Linked DNA regions of Homo sapiens: region 1 is linked to region 2. The links are contacts of gene promoters, found by promoter capture Hi-C in human tissues and cell types (Jung and others, 2019). All regions are on one chromosome and are shown on one strand. The core of a region is centred on a gene start or on the middle of the fragment in contact, and the rest is flanking DNA. Distances in the headings are between cores, read along the strand shown. Region 1 has its middle 22 kb from the start of MTMR7. Region 2 holds the start of SLC7A2 (solute carrier family 7 member 2).

Region 1 (6,959 bases), core at 1,776-4,275, 61 kb after region 2:
AGCTCCTGGGCTATAGCGATCCTCCCACCTCAGCCTGTCAAAGTGCTGGGATAACAGGCATGAGACACTGCAAGCTAGCTTATACGAATTTTGGTGAAGTTTCTGTTCAGGTATTTTGCCCATCTTTAAAACTGGGGTTTGTTTTCCTATTATTGAGTTTTGAGAGTACTTTATATACAAGTTCTGGACATGAGTCTTTTAACAGATGTGTGATTTGTAAATATTTTCTTCCAGTCAGTGGCTTGTCTTTTTAATCTGTTAAGATGTTTTTGAAAGAGTAGAATTTCTTGACTTTGATGAAGCCCAATATATGATGTTTTAGTGCATTGTGCTTTTGGTGTTACAGACAAGAAAATTTCACTTAGTCCAAGGTCACATAGATTTTCTCCTATGTTTACTTCTGGAAGCTTTATAGTTTTAGGTTTCACATTTACATCTATAATCTGAGTTAATTTTTGATTGGTGTGAAGTACAGATCATGGTTGTTTGGTTTTTTTGCATTCAAAAATTAACTTTTCTAACACTGTAGTTGAAATGACTCTCCTGTTACCACTGAATTGTTCTTGTACTTTTGTTGAAAACCAATTGACCATACATGCGCAGGTCTGTTTCTAGCCTCCGTTTTATTTAGTTACTCTCATATAACTGGTCTGAAGTCAAAACTACGTTGTCTAGGTTACTGCAACTTTGTAAGTCTTGCAGTTTGGTAGTATATTGTGCAGTATATTAAAGTGAAATTTGATCATGAATATTTCCTGTCTGTCTCTCTTTGGACAGTATATTGGTTAGTATAAAGTGGTTCTTATTTTTCAAAATTATTTTGGGTATTCTAGGTTCTTTGCATTTCCATATTGTCAAATCAGTTTGTCAGTTCTACAAAAACAGCCTGCTAGAATTTTGACTAGGATTGCACTGTATGTCCTATATGTGGAGTACATCATAATAATATTGAATCCTTCAATCCATGAAGATAATACAACTCCATTTATTTTGGGTTTCTTTAATTTATCTCAGCAATGTTTATAGTTTGCTGTGTACAAGGGTTATACTTTTTTGTTAGATTTATCCTTATTTCATATTTTTAATGTTATTAATGGCATTTAAAAAATTTCCAATTTCCAGTTGTTATTTGCTAACATATAGAAACATAACTTATTTTTTTGTGTTGATCTTGTATCCTACATCCTTGCTAAGCTTACTTATTAGTTCTAATAGCTTTTGTAGAGTCCATCAGATTTTCTGTGTATGGAGCCATGTCTTTTGGAAGTAAAGATAGATTTACTCCTTCCTTTTCAGTTTGGATGTCTTCAAATTCTTATACTTGCTACGGCATTGGCTAGACCATCCAGTACAATGTCAAATAGTAGTAGTGGCATTGGACGTCCTTGACTTGTTTCTGATATTGGGAAAGCTTTCAGTCTTTCATCATTGTGTATGTTAACTGTAGTTTTCTTGTGGATTACTTTATCAGATAGAGGAAGTTCCCTTCTATTCATAATTAGCTGAGAGTTAGTTTATTTATTTATTTATTTTTATTTTTAAATCAGGAATGAATGCCGAATGTTGTCAAACAATTTTTCTATATCTATTGAGATGACAATATGGAGGTTTCATTAGTTGGACAATATGATGAATTAAATCGATTTGTTATTTTTAAACCAACCTGCATTTCTGGGATAAACAAAATGTTTTCAAAAACAGAGAAATTCATCAGGTTGGATTTAAGTTAAAGGAATGTGACTGCTTGGTTATTATTGCAGCACAATTTATCAAATCATGGAAGATAAGTTATTTTTCTAGTTATGACTGTTTTCAATAAATCTCAAAAAATTTCTTAACTTTTCAGTGAAACTATATTAAAGTATGTGAAATTTGTAGTGATCATTAGTTTATCAAGGTAAAATGCAATATATTCTTCTCTTCAGTCTATTTAGAAATTAGAAAATATCTGAAGTGTCTACTTTTCATGAGATCTTAGGCATTTCCAAACACATAATTTTTTAGTCTAGGGCAAAGTATTTTGTGTGGTTCTACCTGTCTACACAATCCTCTCTTTTCCCTCCATTTTATGAGACTATTAGTTGAGAACTAGTCTAAACTCCCTTTTTGAGGCATTTTCTCAAAGGAGGTTGCAGTATTACTGCCTTGGGTGATCCTGGTAGCCCATGGAGGGAGGTGAACATAAATGCTTAAACACTAATACCACCCGTTAGCTACTGCTCCTGAGAGAGACGGACAGGAAATATTCATGATCAAATTTCACTTTAAACTCAGGGCGGGAAGTGACTATCCTCATCAAAAGGTAATTAAAAGATTCCCTCGGGCCTCAGAAGACACGGAGGCTGTTTGTACTATTGAGAAAGTTGCCAAAGTGAGAAGGCAGATAATGAGCACTTCAGATGTGGGGACAGAGCCAAGCAGACATCAGCTCTTTCATTAACCAGTCAATCAGGTGAAGCAGATTGGAAGGAATTCAAGCCTTCAGAAGAAGTAAGATGATCAAGACTTAACCCTCAAGGTTGTTAAGCAAGTACATAAGCAAAGTCCAGGAATTTTTGCCATACGGTGGCTAGTGGTGCAGGATTTGGGGACAGGGAGACCAGGGTTGAGTGGGGACTGCACAATTTCTTACCTATCTCTTCTTTCATTTTCTTTCTGGGCCACCCCAGTTTTCTTATTTGTGGTGTTGTGAGATGAAGTAAGTAAAGCAACTAGCGCATTACTGGTACTTCATTGTAATAGAAGAAAGATGCCATTCATAACCCTGACTGGCTTCTAGAAAGGATTCTTTTCAGTGGAAGGCTCTTCATGCTGCTGGAGCCTTAACAGGTTTGTGTGAGAGCACGAGCTGGGAAGCGTTGACTTGCTCTGCACATTAAAGAAGCAGAACCCCGTCTCTAGTAAAAATACCAAAAATTAGCCGGGCGTGGTGGCAGGCGCCTGTAGTCCCAGCTACTTGGGAGGCTGAGGCAGGAGAATGGCGTGAACCCAGGAGGCGGAGCTTGCAGTGAGCTGAGATGGTGCCACTGCACTCCAGCCTGGGCAACAGAGCGCGACTCCGTGTCAAAAAATAATAATAATAATAAATAAATAAATAATAAGAAGCAGAATGTGGAGTTCCCAAGGCAGTCTTGGTGGGAAAGGAGCAGAGAAGTGAGTATCAGTAGAAAAAGCCAGTGAGGCTGGGCATGGTGGCTCACGCCTGTAATCCCAGCACTTTGGGAGGCTGAGGCAGGTGGATCACGAGGTCAGGAGTTTGAGACCAGCCTGGGCAACAAAGTGAAACCCCGTCTCTACTAAAATACAAAAAAATTAGCTGGTTGTGGTGGTGTGCACCTGTAATTCCAGCTACTCAGGAGGCTGAGGCAGGAGAATTGGGTGAACCTGGGAGGCAGAGGTTGCAGTGAGCCAACATCGCACCATTGCACTCCAGCCCAGACGACAGTGTGAGACTCCATCTCAAAAAAAAAAGAGAGAAAGGAAAGCCAGTGAGAGGGAAGGCCCAGTGAGGGCCAGTGAGAAACCCCCAAGGGTGAGTGCAAGAACACCTCCAACAGCTGAATGCCAGATGTTGGGGGTGAAAATGTCATAGATTTCCCCCTATGTTGCAGAGGTATGCAAAATGGAAACTCTTCGTTTCTCTGCAATTGAACTAGATTTCGAGTGACCCTTTCCGCTTGGTAGTGACAAAAGTAATCTGAGTAAAGGTCAGCTCAGACACTTAGGATTTAAAAGTCAGCGAATAATTGCTGTCTTCACAATCAAGTCCACTTCTTCCTCAGCTCTTTTCTCCCTCCTGCCCAGGAGGTGATGTAAGTACCAGAAGGAAAGGATTTTAACTGTCATCCATGTCAGGGAAGAGAATGGTTTATCCCCAGTCGTCTTTTATCTTTCTCTGGCTGCTACTGAGCTGAAACTTGTCCCCCCAGGCCTCTGGGTGCATGACCCACTGCTTATGCCAAAATGACCACTGTTCTCCCAAGGACTCTGATTACCTGTTCCATGCAAACCACCTGTGTCCTCCTCGCTGGGGCATAGAAATCAGACTCCTTCACATCTCTATTAGTCTGTTTTACATTGCTATAAAGGAATTCCTGAGGCTGGGTAATTTATAAAGAAAAGATGTTTATTTGGCTCATGGTTCTGCAAGCTGTACAGAAAGCATGGCACTGGCATTTGCTCAGCTTCTGGTGAGGCCTCAGGAAGCTTTTACTCAGGGCGCAAGGTGAAGGGGGAGCTGGCGTGTCATATAGCGAGAGAGGGAGCAATAGAGAGAGCAGGAGGTGACAGGCTCCTTTAAACAACCAGCTGTTGCGTGAGCTAAGAGAGCAAGAACTCATTCATGACCAGGGGGAGGCCATTCTTGAGGGATCCACCCTCATGGCCCACCTCTAACACTGGAAATCTCATTTCAACATGAGACTTGGAGGGAACACACATCCAAACCCTATCAATGTCCACTAGTCTAGGTGTCATCCCCATCCTCCTCTCAGGGTCCACAAGCAACATTCTGCCACTGTCCCCTTATCACCCTGGAGGTCCATGAGGCCAGCTGTCAGGGTGTCTCACTCAGAATTTGCTGGCCGGGATGGATGCTGAGTTTCTCCCTGAAACTCACAGTCTTCCCAGGTTTATCTACTGAGAAGGAAGGCCAAGTCCTTTTTTGTGTTGGCTTCCGTAAACCTGTATTAGATTTGCAGTTTTCTTCCCCACTTCAACATGGCCTGGGGGGAGGTGGAACCAGGGGTCACAGACACAGGCAAACTCACTCTTTTGTTCTCCTCTCCTCTTTCAAGTTCTTTCCCCAATTCAAGCAAAATATTTTATCTTCTTGTGTGGCTGGAAACGGGCTCTTCATCTTTCTCCTTCGCAGGGATTGTTTATGTGTAAACATTGTGTCTTCTGCCTTCAGGCATTGGCTCTTGATAATAAAAGCCATGTTTTTGGAATTCAGAAAATGTTTTCCTCTTCAGGTGCTGTGGCTCTCAGCTCAAGTCTCTGCTGTTCCAAGGCTTTTTGTCTGTAGCTTCTCTCTGACTACAGTGTAGATGAAAGATGTTACAGGTGCCGGACCAGTGAGAAGAAAGGGGACGATCAAAGGAAACATAAGGAAGGAAAACTTTAACTGGCATTTCAAACATTATTCACTACACTAATATGTGTTTTTAGGTTGGTATTACTGTGTGGGATGAAGTGACCCTTCTATGGAACCTAAACATCTTCAGTATAGTCTATATTTTTGCAAATATTTGGTTTGAATGGTCTTTTATTGGAAATCTAGAAAAAAGCTTGGGTGTAAGTCTGAGATGACATAGTACAGAAGAGCAGCAATGGAAACCTGGAGCCCACATTGACCTTGAGCATATAAGCTCCCCCACACACATCTAAAAATCTGCAGACATGTGGACTTACCTGTAGTATAGACTGTGCACTCAAGCTCATTCTGTCTCAGAGTGAAGATTTCCTTGGTGACATCTGGGTTAAATAAGAAATGGCCAAAAAATATTAGGTAATTATACTAGTCATAGCAGAAGTAGGAATTGTGGTGGTAGGAAAGTTCCTGAAGAATCCAGTGTGCCCTGGCTGGGGAAAGAACAACGTGAAACAGGACCAGGACAGGAGGCATCTCTTCAGCAATGCTGTCGTAGGGACCTAGACAAGAGAAATGGAAACTGATATCCTGACTCACCTAATACCACCTGTTACTCATTATCTACAATATAAATTAGTGCTCTCAAGGGCCTCAATTGGTAATCAATCAATGTCTGGTTTGCTGACCTTCCAGGCAAGTGGTATCACTGGACATCTGTGTAGATGCGTTGCTATGAATGAATACTTTGGCATTGTCTGAAAGAGGATAGGATAAGTGTATTAGACAGGGTTCTCCAGAGAAACAGAACCAATAGGATATATTAGTTTCATATATATCATATATATAAATGAAATTTATTTTAAGTAATTAGCACACGCGATTGTAGGGGCTGGCAAGTACAAAATCTATAAGGCAGGCTTGCTGCAATTCTGGCAAAAGTTGGTGTTGCGTTCTTTACTCCCAAGGCAGTTTTGAGGCTGAATTCTTTCCTTTTTGAGGGGTCCTCAGTCTTTTCTCTAAAGACTGTCAACTGATTGAAAGAGGCCCATCCATGTTATAGAGGGTAATCTGATTTTTTCACTGATTTAAATGTTAAATACGTTTATAAAAATACTTCACAGCAACAACTAGACTGGTGTTTGATCAACAACAGGGCACCACAGCCTACCCAAGTTGACACATAAAATTCACCACCACAATAAAGGTTTTTATTTTCTTTGGAGTAGAAACATGTGAGTAGGGCAGACTGGGAAGACGAGGACAGGGTTAACATGGCCTAGTGTTTGTCCCCCTCTGGTTACTCAGGTTTCAGCAGTAATGGAAACGTGGGTGAGCCCCAAACTAGGACAGCTTCCTGAGAAATTCTGTGGACTCTGGGCTCAAGCAGAGCTGCCCTGAGGCTGAGAGATTGCAGCGCTGCCCTGAGGCTGAGAGATTTAAGGTGTGACCCAGAGTTGGGAAGAGAGGCATCCTCCCCACTTCTGTAGAAAAGCCAGCATGGCGCTGGCCCTTCAAAATGGTCAGTCTGAAAGTTCCAGAAAACAACACTCTTGGCATGGATGTTAATCTTCTCACTGAAGGGCCCAGTGGCACTGGCAAGGATGCGGTCTCCCCAGCAGGAGTTTTCATATGGCAGAATCTGAAGTGGAGCGTGAGGTGAACAGGTGTTCCCGGCCCTATCTGAGCAAGCCTCTACGAACGCCTAGACATGCCTGCGAGGAGCTTTTCTGGAGACAGGAATTTGTGTGGTTTTTGGTTGTTTGTTTTTGTTTATTTTTTGTTTGTTGGTTTTTTTGAGACAGGGTTTCACTCTGTCACCTGGGCTGGAGTGCAGTGGTGCCATCTTGGCTCACTGCAATCTTCATCT
Region 2 (6,496 bases), core at 268-2,767:
AATAAAGTGGCCTCCCAGAGCAGGCAACTAGCAACTTTGTAGGAAAAGGAGAGGGAAGAAGTCCTGTGTTCTGCACTGAGAGATCATTTCATGTCACGCTTCAGTGCAATTAAAATAAAAAAGGATTTACTAATTACAAAGCAATCCTAACAAGGTACATAATACAGAATATTCACATCTTATACATCTCCTAGAGAAAGATTACAAACACAGAATGTTTCACCTTCCGGAGGAGATAATTATTAACTTTTAAAGACTAGCTCAGGCAAGAATGAAAAAGTATCAAGTCAAGGCCACATACATTCTAATTTTATAACCCAGGCGGCCCTGGATGGGATTCAGAGAGCTCTTATTTGAATAAGATCTGACGATATCCTCTCATTAAAAGGATTAGTGTTTCTGCACAAACGTCTAGATAAATCTTATTACTGGTCCAAAATTAGTCACCTAAAGGCTTTAGCCAGTTTTGCACAAATATTTACAACTCTGAAGAGGCTGAGTACTTTTTCTCTTGAAATCCAGGCACTATATCCACTTCAAAAGCCACATATGATTGTGGCTTTTGCTGAGCATATTTCTTTTCGACGAGTTGAAGATGACAATCTCTCAATACCTTACTCCATAGACTGGATGTAAGCGTCAAAAGAGGATGAAAAGGTACTTTCTGAACGGACAGGTACTCTGGGGTGATGGGTTGGGAGATTCTCTAAGCCTCAAGAACAGCGTTTCATGAAACGGGCTTATAAAATACAGCCCATCTCAAACGGATTTTAAAAGGCACCCAGTTACTTTAAAATACCCAATACAAACACCAAGACGGGCTATTTTACCAGGTCCCCTGCAGAATGTGAAGGGGCTTCCAGCGCTCCAAGCCGGCTTTCTAATTTAAGCCAAGAACCGAAAAGGAGCGAAGGCGGCTTCGGGGACCCCGGCAGCGTGCAGGGCCAGGAGGTTCAGCCTGCCCACCCGGAGAGGGGTGCGCCGAGCTCCTCTGGAAATAGTGACTGAAGGGTCCCCGCGAAGTCGCCGTGCCAGCCCCTCTCCCAGTTCCAGCGGTCCCCGAAGTCCCCGGGCAGAGCCGGCTGCACAGGGACCGGACGAGGCGAGGCGCATTCCGGGGCGCAGCCCCGAGGACGAAGGTCCACGGCTTCAGCCCCAGCCCACGGCCCCGACTCCCTGACGAAGACTCGCTGGAGCGCGGCCTCAGGGCAGCTGCGCGCAGCTGGACTCGTCCCCGGGAGCCCTCGACCCTCTAGTTCCCCGCCGGCCCCAGGGCGCCCTCGCCCCGCTCCTTCCCCGCCGGCCCCAGCGTCCGGGCTGCCCCTCGCCCGCGGCCTCTCGGCGGGGCTGGAGACCTAGCAACTTACTGGGGCTGGGTTGGGGTCGCGCCAAGAAGGCGGCGGTGGGCTGCCGGCTGCAGCGCGTCGGGGGCCCGCGGCTGGGGGACGCTGGAGCAGCGGCCGCCGCCTCGCTGGTCCCGCGAAGAGGAGCGCCCGCCGGCCGCGCTGCAGAAGGAGGGCTGGGCACGTGGGCGCCCCTCTGTGTAGCCACCCGGGGCGGGGGCGGGGCGCGGGGCCGGGCGGCACCGCCTCCTCCGCGCTCCCGGAACGCGACCCCGAGCCCGCCTCCCGCCGGGCCCCGGCCGCGCTGACCAATCCCCGGGGTGGGCGGTGTGCGGCCGCTGCTCAGCGGGGTTTGCCTGGAGCCGAGCACACGTGGGCGGGCGCTAGCCCCGGGCTAGGCCGGTGGGCGCGGGCCGGGGAAGAGAGGCTGCGCGCGAGGATAAACTTCGTGCTCTCCTGGGAGGACCAAACCTCAAGGGCATTTCCGAATCTTCTAAGCAGAGTTCTAAGTGGGGTTTTGGTCCCCCCGTTTACTTTCCATTCTACAAAGATTTTGGAAATAAGAAAATAATAATAAAATATAATAATAGCAATGATAAATGGAAGCCCAGGTGGATGTGCTTTGTCAAATGCAAACTAAACGTTGATAAATAATGTGCAGTTGCTATTTTGGAAGACTCCAGTGGTATGAATACGTAGTCACGATTGTTTGGGGGTGGGTTTATAGGAAATGACATTATTTCCAGGGGAGCAAGAGCAGAAGTTACACAATCAGGGTTTCTCCTACTGCGCTATTGTTTACTTTAGGAGTCTCTGATAAGATTAAGTCACAATGTGAAAGCCTGTTAATTTTCATCCAAAACGAAGCAAAACACGCACTGAATTGAACAATAAGTGTGTGTCAGTGTGTGTGTGTATATGTGTGTGTGGTTTGTCTTTAGAGACAGGGTCTCACTCTGTCGCCCAGGCTGGAGGGCAGTGACACAATCGTGGCTCACTGCAGCCTCGACCTCCTGGGCTCAAGCTATCCTCCCGCCTCAGCCTCCCAAAGTGCTGACAACTACAGGCTTGAGCCACCAGGCTGAGAATTACAGGCTTGAGCCACCATGCCCGGCCTATTACTATTTTTGTTTGACAGAAAGGTCCACTTTACTTTGCATAGTATTGGAGTAAACGTCCCTTTAACCCACCTACTAGTAATAACTTTGGCAAAGTGCCAGATTTGTATTGCTGCCTCACAGTACATATACAATTTTAATGTGATATTCTAAATCATTCTTCCCTTCAAGACATATATCCCCAAGATCATCTAATAAACGGTGTGGGGCTTCATTCCAGAAGATAGCACACACACAAAATCTCAATGTATCTCAGGAAGCCATCCATGGATTTCATCAAAAAGTGAAAGTGTAGGCTGGGGGTGGTGGCTCACGCCTGTAATCCCAGCACTTTGGGACGCCGAGGCGCGCCGATCACCTGAGGTCAGGAGTTCGAGACCAGTCTGGCCAACAGGGTGAAACTCCGTCTCTACTAAAAATACAAAAATTAGCCGGGCGCGGCGGCGGGCGCCTGTAACCCCAGCTACTCGGGAGGTTGAGGCAGGAGAATCGCTTGAGCCCAGGAGGCGGAGGTTGCAGTGAGCCGAGATAGTGCCACTACAGTCCAGCCTGGGCGACAGAGTGAGATTCCGTCTCAAAAACAAAAGCAAACGAACAAAAAAACTGAAAGTTTAAACAGCACTATGATTACGAAGATATTATCTGATAGACCAAATGTCTTAAGTAATAGAGACTGTCAAAGTAAACTTATTTTTACAGTCAAAAAAAGATTCCTTATGCAAATTATCATTAATAACATTAAGGGAAATGATGCGTGTGGACTTTTAACACCAGATTCCTCCTCAATCCCACGGCTAGGAGGCGTTGTTCAAGGGAGCGATGACTCAGATACTTTGTCTAATTTTTAAGGGTGAGTAATCTGGTCTAACATTTTTCACCTGGTTTAAAAAAAATAGAGATTCCTGGGAGTCGCGGTGGCTCAGGGCGGTTGCCCTGGCACTCGAGGAGGCGAGGCTACACGTTCGAGGCCAACCTGGTCAACATTGATTAAAATAAAGAAAGAAAAAATAAAAAAATAGAGATTCCTATTTTTAAACTTAAGCAATTATTTCCCCACATATTTTTACTTAAAGGCTCTGTGTTTAAATCTGTTTAATTTGTGATTAAGTTACAACACAATGATTTGGGATAAACAAATTTATCTGGAATTTGGAAACTGCCAATTTTGTCAGAATACCGATCTTTGAATTTATCCAATCTGCCCGCCGGCGCACTTCCTGAAGCAAGAACGTGCTGTGTTCATGTGTGTGAATAAGAACAACAACTTCATCTCTAAGCAAAAAAAGAGCAAATTCTTTCAAACAACTTTCTAACAAGATTGCTGAATATCTTTACACACTAGTTCTTGACTTAACATATTCCATTTCGTGTTTGAAATTATTGATTAACCCTGAATCCTGCCTCATAACTTTGGTTATTTCTCACCTTTAAAAATGTGTTTAGATGAGGAAAGAATAGGATGCCCACGGATTTAGTATGAGTCTCTTAAGACAGACTATGAGACAAGAGAAAATAGAATCGAATTTTTAGAAATGAAATATTTGAAACAGGTTAAGCTCTTTTGACTTCATCTTCATTTGCATTTTCTCTTGCTGCCCGGGGTTGAATTAGCATCTTTTTCCCAGTTGAGTAAAATTTGCACCCACCTTCTATTTCACGCTCCCTGGTTTATTGCCATCACTTTTCACTTTCAGCCGTCAAGTTTCCTCCTTAGGAATGAAGCAGAAAATCCAACTTAGTCATTTTCAGCAGAGAGAGTAGCCTAGGTTGTCATCTTCCAAAGATTTCACAAACATTCTTGCATGTCTGAACTCTTAAGGGTTTATGAAATTGCGGGGAATTTTAAGGGACTTTTGTAGCTGAATAAATTCCACACCCTGTACTCCCACACTTGCCAAATACAACCTAAAGTAAATCTCATGTCCACAAATAAGGGATTTACTTCAACTAGCAAGACTGAAGGAATGGATTCTTACTAGTTCTAATTTGTGACTCTATTATTCCCCAAACTATTTTAGCGAAGACAAGCTAAAATCCTCCAATTTTTTTCAGATGGTTGGATACTGGATACTAATGCTTGTGCTGTCACTGAATCAACTCAAAAGGGAAAAAGAGTTGGACCAGAGTCAGAGCACTAGCTATTTGTTTGTTTTTTGAGACGGAGTTTCCCTCTGTCACCAGGCTGGAGTGCAAGGGCACGATCTCAGATCACAGCAACCTCTGCCTCCCGGATTCAAGCGATTCTCCTGCCTCAGCCTCCGGAGTAGCTGAGATTACAGGCGCTCACCACCACGCCTGGCTAATTTTTTTGTATTTTCAGTAGAGACGGGGTTTTACCACGTTGCCCAGGCTGGTCTCAAACTCCTGACGTCAGGTGATCCCGCCCACCTCGACCTCCCAAAGTGCTGGGATTAAAGGCGTGAGCCACCGCCCCGACCCAGAGCACTAGTTTTAAGAGCTTTCAGGCCACCGCTGTTCTCCACTCGCCTTTCAAAAATGTGTAAAAACCTAGAGGTGACTTTCCACTGGACAGAGTCCATATCTGCCCATCCCTTAAGGCAAGCAACAAAATATTGAAAAAATGGTTGGAAAAAAAATACAACAAGTCCATATAAATGACAAGTCGTCTTTCAAATTCATCTTCTTCTACTTGTCTTTCAACTAAGACCAAATCACCGTTTTGCAATGATTTTCATTCTACATTGCTCTTCCTACAAATTTCCCTGCCTCCTGTCACTTGGTGTCTTTCTGGGGTTTCTTTACATTGGCCATTCATCAGGAATGGCCCTGAGCTCCACCCGCCCCGTGCTAGTCTCTAATTCCTTCTGCCAGGATTCCTGCTGGGCCTCTTATCTGCTGGAAAAAGTCAGTTTTCTTAATCTAAACATCAGTTAGCCTGTTGCTCTAAGGACTGAAAACCAGGGATTTAGGAGGGAGCTCAGATAATCTAAATCCTCTCTTTTCTTTAACCTTGATGAGGGTCCTAATTGCTCCAGAAATCTCTTCCTAATCATATGCAATGGACCTTTCGCAGTTCTCTTGTGCCTCAAACTCGCTCCTGCTTTCTTTCTTTCTCGAAACTATCTCCTCCTTGGCTTCCACGGTCTCTTAGTTTTCCTCCTACTATCCTGAATAACCTTTTGTCTTGCTTGCTAACTAAGGCACTCTTAAGATTAAATTATTGAATCATTCTTAACTCCATCAATCTTCACAATCTAGGTTGTTATGCTTTTTTTTTTTTTTTTTTTTTTGAGACGGAGTCTCATTCTGTCACCCAGGCTGGAGTGCAGTGGTGCACTCTCAACTCACTGCAATCTCTGCCTCCTGGGTTCAAGCGATTCTCCTGTCTCAGCCTCCCGAATAGCTGGTATTACAGGCACGGGCCACCACGTCCGGCTAATTTTTTGTATTTTTAGTACAGACAGGGTTTCACCGTGTTAGCCAGGATGGTCTCGATCTCCTGACCTCGTGATCTGCCCGCCTCGGCCTCCCAAAGTGCTGGGATTACAGGCGTGAGCCTCCATACCCGGCTGAGAGAGTAATTTTTACCTCCTTTTCTACAAAAGAAAAAAATTAGAAACCACTCATCATGCTGGGGCAGAGAACGACAGAGAACGTGCCACTGCACTCCAGCCTGGGCGAAAGAGAGAGACTCCGCCTCTAAAAAAAAAAAAAGGAGGGGGTAAGGGGGTAATCCCCTTTTATCCGCGGGGGGGTATATGTTCCAAGACCCTCAGTGGATGCCTGAAATCACGGATAGTACCAAACCCTATATGTACAATTTTTTTTCTATGCATACGTACTGTGATAAAGTTTAATTTATAAACTAGACACAGTAAGAGATAACAACAATAACTAATGATAAAATAGAATAATTATAACAATATACTCTAATGAAAGTTACACGAATATGGTGACTCTCTCAAAATACCTGATATTAACAAAAATAACTATGATTTACTGTGGATAACTGAAAACACAGAAAGCTAAACCGTGGGTAAGGGAGGGGAGGTACTGTTGTACTCATGTGAAAAT

What was found. The method cuts DNA at HindIII sites, captures the fragments that hold promoters and counts their contacts. A contact is called where the count stands out against the background at its distance.
Region 1: a contact is called between a fragment that was not itself captured here and the fragment with the promoter of SLC7A2 in region 2, in 2 of the 25 tissues and cell types used here (mesenchymal stem cells and thymus).

The regions. Positions count from the first base shown.
Region 1 is chr8:17,431,665-17,438,623 of GRCh38, reverse strand. No RefSeq gene overlaps it. Among named protein-coding and RNA genes, the nearest start is that of MTMR7, 22 kb to the right of the region's middle. The HindIII fragment of the contact is 3,444 bases long and covers 1,304-4,747 here.
Region 2 is chr8:17,492,109-17,498,604 of GRCh38, reverse strand. SLC7A2 (solute carrier family 7 member 2) reads right to left here and starts at 1,517. Exons shown (of 13, transcript NM_001370338.1): 1 at 1,368-1,517. The HindIII fragment of the contact is 11,749 bases long and covers 1-6,496 here.